Regions from separate parts of the Homo sapiens genome. Here region 1 is linked to region 2. Evidence: promoter capture Hi-C in 16 types of primary human blood cells and fetal thymus (Javierre and others, 2016). All regions are on one chromosome and are shown on one strand. Each heading gives the region's core, a stretch centred on a gene start or on the middle of the fragment in contact. The rest is flanking DNA. Distances are from core to core; before and after follow the strand shown.

Evidence for each region. The method cuts DNA at HindIII sites, captures the fragments that hold promoters and counts their contacts. A CHiCAGO score of 5 or more calls a contact.
Region 1: a fragment that was not itself captured here is called in contact with the fragment with the promoter of DOCK4-AS1 in region 2 in 2 of 17 cell types (non-activated CD4 T cells and total CD4 T cells); the score reaches 5.1 in non-activated CD4 T cells.

The regions. Positions count from the first base shown.
Region 1 is chr7:108,745,858-108,749,216 of GRCh38, reverse strand. No RefSeq gene overlaps it. Among named protein-coding and RNA genes, the nearest start is that of LINC02903, 140 kb to the left of the region's middle. The HindIII fragment of the contact is 5,995 bases long and covers 1-3,359 here.
Region 2 is chr7:111,806,533-111,810,083 of GRCh38, reverse strand. It overlaps DOCK4-AS1 (DOCK4 antisense RNA 1), which reads right to left and starts at 1,579. Exons shown (of 2, transcript NR_103806.1): 1 at 1,471-1,579. It overlaps DOCK4 (dedicator of cytokinesis 4), which reads left to right. Exons shown (of 53, transcript NM_001363540.2): 29 at 683-783; 30 at 1,205-1,263. The HindIII fragment of the contact is 9,376 bases long and covers 1-3,302 here.

The DNA.
Region 1 (3,359 bases), core at 131-2,630, 3.1 Mb after region 2:
AGCACACATTCTTGTCTCTCATAATAGTAAAAAAAACAAAAATACAAAAATAAGTTTTTTAAAGCTATTCTAGGCTCATTTTCCGTATCTGTAAGATGAGATAATAAACAAGGCAATTTATAAAGGTTTTTGGCTCTAACAAGCCATGATTTGAAATGCACTAAGCATTTGAGTTGGTGGCAAAGTACGATGGAATGACCTCTCACTCTGGGTTACCATTTAAAGACAACAATAGCTGTGGTTCAAAGTGTGGCACAAGACAAGCTGACATTGTCTCACCAGGATATGCCGATAGGAAAACAAAGTCTGAGATCACAGTGTAGAAATGAGGATTTCTGGAGCAAAAGCATCAGGATTGACAAGCATGGGATGGGAGGGGGTTGATGTCTCACCTATAAATGTTAAGCAGTTCTTACAAATACCATTTAGCAAAAAGACATAACTATAATGACATTTTCCAGGAATCCTATAAAAGACAGAAAGCACAACCAGCCTTTTGTCAATGTCTTCTATTGTGATATGAGTGATTTAATGAAATTTGGAGTTGACAGTAATAATCTCATAATGTGACATACATTAAATCAATTTAACAAAGGTGAAACATAATAAAAATCTAGAACCTATGCCTGGCATTTTAAAAGTACATACTTACAACCTATCACAGGAGTTCAATTATTCTGAGACATTCTGTTCACATATATTAGTGTATGTAAAATATGCACAAAATTAAGATTTCAACTTCAGTCATGTAGTAAGGGCCAAATATGAGCCAATCACCAGGGACAGTAGAGCAAAGGCTCTTCATGCCATTACTTAATTATATTCACCAAGGGATGTAAAGAAAACCCCATTTTCTTCAAATGGAGTGGGTTTTATTTCAAATGTTTCCAAAATTCAACCACATTTATTTTCCCAATTTCTATAGCTGCCATCCTGGACAAAGCCACTATCTCTTCTCATCTGATTATTATGACAGCTTACTACTTGGACACCCTCCTTCTACCCTGGTCTCCTACTTCTATTTGCCATACAATAACCACAGTTGTGCTTTTAAAATGCAAGTCACTCCTTCACTCTCTCCCATCCCTTGGTTCTCATATTGGTCAATAAAAGCCCAAGTATTTCCCATGACCTCAAATGCCCTACAACTGCATCATCCATAACACCTAAGAGTTTGCTAGAAATGTTCTCAGGCCCTACTCCCCATCTACCGAATTATAAACAAGCCCTTCAGATGACTCAAATGAGGGCTAACGTTTGAAGACCAATGCCTTAGAGGACCGTACATCCTACCTCTCACTACCTCTCTGACTCATCTCCTTCTATTTTCCCTTTTGCCTACTTTGCTCAGCTCCAGCTAAAAAGGCTTAAATGTACCAAGCCTGTCCCAAGCTCAAGTTCTTTGTATATGTTTCTCTTCTGCCCAGAAAACTTTTTCCAGTAATATCCATGTAGCTTATTCTTTCACATCTTTTAGATGTCTGTACAAATATCATCTTATATAGCAGCCTTCCCTATCCTATATAAAATAGTAAGCCCTGAATCCAGAACTTCCTTTCCTTCTTACCTTCTTTATGTTTCTTCATTGCATGTATTATCTCCTGATATATAACATTTATCTGTTCATAGCCTGTCTCTTCCACTAGAATGTAAACCCATGAGGATGGAGTCTTTGTTATTAACAAATAACCAGTGTCAAGAACATTTTCTAACACAGAGCAGATCCTCCATAAATATTTACTGAATAAATGAATGAATGAATTCACCTCCCGGGTCTGAAAAGGAGGATATAGAGGCCAGATCAACATGTGACTCTAACATAAATGTCTAGAAAATGCTCTCCTTTCTAAAAATGTATTCCTCTACAGCTTTCCTATAGCATAGATTCTTGTAGCATTAAGAATTGAGTCTCCCTAAGGAGTTTATTAAGAGAAAATGCATTTACCTAGTTAAAGCAATAGCAGAGATATGTTTTTCCTAATTAAGCTCATTATCATTCATGTCACATAGGACATACAATATGTGCCATATAGCACATGGGCTTTTTTTTTGGAGAAGGTAAGGGGATGATTGAAGGGTTGCAGAAAATGCTGAGAACTTATGGTATACACCATGCTGATGAAGTTATTAGTAGTAGTCAAGAAAAAAGATCTATTAAAACAGAGTATGGAGCTACCCAATAGAGGAAGTTTATCAAGCTACACACACAATTCTTTCATGGGTACTGCTGTGGGTATCATGAACCTGGGGTGGACAGTTAATATATTAGGTGCCAGAATCAGACTCCCAAGTGAATGGACAACAGACAAAACATAATTTGAAATTAAGAAATAAAAAGTGTAAAAGGAGTGGAATGTGGTTAAACAGTTTTTTAAGGTTATGTTTTGTGGCAATGCCAATAAAGACCTTGGACACGCTTAGGACACATGATCCACTGGATTAAAAGAGTCATTCCAGATCTGACACAAAAGGACACTTTCACCTACAAAACTTAAATTGTTGGAATTATGGTGCCAAAAAAATTTCAATTATATTTCAGGCATAAATATAACAACATCTTTAAAATTTCAAGGGTCATTAGAGAGGTGACACTAAAATCAGAGTTGCAAATCATGGACAAAAGCACTGTTCAAAACTAATTTTGCCAGGGGGTTGGCCAAGATGGCCAACTAAAAGCAACTAGTCTGCACTGCTCTTACAGAGAGAAATGGAAGGGATAAGTAAATACAGCACCTTCAACAGAAACATCCAGGTACTCGCATTGGGACTCACCAAGGAAACAACTTGACCCATGGAGAACGGAGAAAAGCAGGCAGGACAACTGCCCTCCCAGGAGCAACACAGAGCCAGGGGAACCTCCTCCACCCAGGGAAGTAGTAGTTCAAGGCAACTAGGTACTGGGGCGATACCCCAGCACAGTCCAGCAGCTCTATGGAGAAGCAGTAAGACTGCTTATTCACACAGATCCCAAATCCCATTTCTCTTGAATCTCCACCTGGGATCTCCTGTCACCCATGCTAGTATTTTCCAGCCAACGGAGGTTTTATGCCTCCCTGGGACGCGGCTTCCACAGAGTGGTGGGCCATCTTCTTTGCTGTTTGGCAGTCTTAGCCATCCTTGCCTTCAGGCTTTGGAAAGCCTGAGGCGACTGGGGGCTGGAGCAGACCCCAAGCACAGCACAGCTGCTCTTCAAAAAGTAGCCAGACTATTTTTGTAAATGCGTCCTCATTCCCATTTCTTCTGGGCAGGATCTCCTGACCAGGATCTCCAGCCACTTCTGCCAGTGTGCTCCAGCCAACAGAGGTTTCAAACCTCCCTGGGACGGAGCTCCCAGGGGGAGAGGCGACCTGCCGTCTTTG
Region 2 (3,551 bases), core at 330-2,829:
TTCTGTGTCATATGTCTCCTGGTTTGTTATGTCTTTAATTTTACATGGTGTCAGTGGAGAAGTGTGTTCCTTCCATTATGTCCTTTTTTTTTTTTGCTAAGTTTATTTCAGGGAACTTTATTCAGATCTCTTTCTGATTCTGTTTTTTGGTATAAGAAAACTTAAAAGATTTGCCTGGGCAGGGAATTTTTATATAATGTCTGAATTTAAAGCAATTAGCATATCTGAAGAAGTGTATGCATTTTTTACAAGTTCTACGTTAAAAGGAGTTCCAAAAATGAACTCACACAGGAATAAAGAAATCCATCTTATACCTCATCCTCTTGGAGATACTCAGACATATTACAAGAGAAACCACGCATCTGTCTTTTAGCATATACCAAAAAGCTCGTGAAACCTGGAATACAGCTTTGGAGCAATATACACCTAGATAATAATAGTACTTATTTATTTAGTTACTTCTTCACTTTAGAAAATTTTAAGCATATGTACAAGTAGAGAGAATAGTATAATGAACCCCCATGAGGTACCCATATCCAGCTTCAACTATTATCAACTCATGGTCAGTCTTACTTCAACTATACCCTCAACCACTTTTGAAGCAAATCCAAAATACTATGTCACTTCACCTGTCAATATGCTTGTAACACCATAGTATTGATATATCTTGTTCTTGTTTTAGATCTGGGATTCCTACTTTTACCTCGCAGTCATTTTTATAAACCAGTTGTGTCTGCAGTTGGAGATGTTCACACCTTCCAAGAAGAAAAAGGTGTTAGAAAAGTAAGTATCAGTGTATAATCAGGTGAGAAATGTTGCCTCTTAAAGAGTATTTAGTTCAAATGATTCATAAATCAGAATGCGCATAACTGGAAATCACACAGTGAAGAACCAGTGACCAAGGGGTCAAGAAGCAGTCTTTTCTGGATGTTTTGATATTTCAAACATGTTTGCACATTGTTTTGACCTGGCTCTTTCAGGATTCAAAATTTCTATAGATGCAAAAAATTATGAAACAGATCTCTTTTACTAAAAGGTTTACACCAGAATTTGACTTAGAGGCATCGTGACATGTATATTAAATGTCTTTAATTAAAAACTCCTTGCCTTGTAATTCAGAATGATAGATTGTATCCTAAAGACACACAAATACTTCCTTGTTCTGGAGGCATTGTATCAGGTTTGGTTTTTTGTTCTATTTCAGGTATGGTGACATGCGGGTAACAATGGGTTGTGAAATTTTCAGCATGTGGCAAAACCTAGGTAAGTGAGGAAAAGAGAAGCCACATCTACTATACAGCTCCTCGCTGTACCTTGAAGTGTACAAATGAAGAAAGGCAATTTACCAGTGACACCATGTGAAACCAAATGTCTAAATCAATAAACATCTATAGAAAGTAATTGACACTTTGGCATTGAATGAGGTTACAACAAATTCTTTAAATTGGTCTCTAAGAAAAGTCACCTTACCTTTGTGTGTTTCATTATTAATTAACGATAAATTTTATAATCTAGCATTGCTCCAACATTACACATATTTCCAGCGATGAGGCAACCTTTCAGAATTTGGAACTGTAACAACTCAAAATTTCTAGAACTCTGAGTTGAAGCTATGAATCATAATAAATTTAGGTTAAACTTCATGAAACATTGACTTGAACGTCACTACTCTTAAAAACTTGAGACCATTGTCCTATATCATAAAGAGTATAGCCAAAGGATTTTAAAAGCATCTGCAGTTGCTAAGAAACTGTTGGATCCAATTTTGTTAATCTGCTATAGCAGATAGAGTATATTATTCCAGAAAATTGATGGTACAGATCTGGTTGCATAGAAAACAGTAATATTTGGAAAACAAATTGTTTTAAAATTCATTGGCATAGGGTCCCTTTCTAGAGATTTATAAGTTATTTCATTTGGTATGTTAACTATGCAGGTTTTTAGTATTCATTTACTATTACTGCATCTTAATGCTCCTCTTTGATTTATTAAAATGATTGACCTATTTGAGTTGAATACGTAATGACCTGAAAATATCTTTTCTCTTGGGCTTATCCAAGTACAACTTGGAGATTGGAAGGATTTATTTTCTGTGAATGAAAATAGAACCATTATTGTTTTACTTCCACTCATGTTAACAGACTGATTTTTGACCAGGATCATTACAGGGTGATTTTTTTTTAATAGGGTATGTATATTCCTCAAATATACATAACAACTTGAGGGAGCCTTGGTATATATAATTAAGCCCAGTGTTCAATGCTTGCTGGTGATTTCAGAAAAAATAAAAAATAAAAAAAAATAATGAAGCTGGGAGCAATGGCTCATGCCTGTAATCCCAGCACTTTGGGAGCCTGGAGCGGGCAGATCACTTGAGGTCAGGAGTTTGAGACTAGCCTGGCCAACATGGTGAAACCCTGTCTTTACTAAAAATACAAAAATTAGCCAGGCGTGGTGGGGGGGTGCCTGTAATCTCAGCTACTTGGGAGGCTGAGGCAGGAGAATCACTTGAACCTGGGAGGTGGAGGTTGCAGTGAACCAAGATCGCTCCATTGCACTCCATCAGCCTGGGTGACAGAGTGAGACTCTGACTCAAAAAAAAAAAAAAAAGAGTTATCATCTTGAAAACAACCTTCAACTATGTAAGGCCAGCCAGAAGATATCATGGTCTGTCTTTAGTTGCAGCTCAAAAATAGTTTTCTTATTTGGAGACTGCTCTTCTTAGTCTTCAGTGTTTTCAGGTTTCATTGATTCTTTGTGTCCTTGTTTTTCCTAAAGAAGATCAAGGCCCTTGTAGTGTCCATATTGCATTCGACATTAATTTAGCAAGATGTTTTTGAAAGAATGCTGCATTGAATCTGTTTGAATGCACTTGTGGTTGTGTAAGCTCTTTTCTGGGCTCAAATTATGAGAGCAGGACAGATTCTGTTCGGTTACAAGAATGTTAAAAAAGAATGACCAGTTTCTGTTCTAGATACATCTCAGCATTGCCATCTATGGTTATTTCCACATAAACCTGTATCCAAACCATAATAGCTATGCATTTAGGCCCATGACCCTTGGGCTGCTAAATAAAGCTGTCACATGTAATCTCCCTAAACATGTCACTGTATACTTCATAAACTTTTATCCTGTATTTTGTCTTTCTTCTAAAATGAAACTATTTCTGCCTCTCTGGTTTTTATGTTAAATTGCTTCTCTGTTTTTCTCAGAGATCTAGAGAATATGGAAAATTTCTGGAGCATATCAATACCTATAATGCAGTATTTTGTTATACTGTAGCATCAGCATCCTTGGAAGCTTGTAAGAAATGCAAAATCTCTCACTCCACCTTAGACCTACTGAAACACAATCTCTGGGATTGGGGCACAGCAGTCTGTTTTAGCAAGTTTTCCAGGTGATTCTTATGTACTTAGCTAAAAACTGAAAAGCACTGCTTTAGTTTATCCTCTTTCTTTGTTGTTACAGCCATAAAGACTTAGCTCTAGCACAATCCTAAGACGCTGTTAGAAAAGGCTCCTCCTTTATACTCAACTTACAGATTCCCAGCA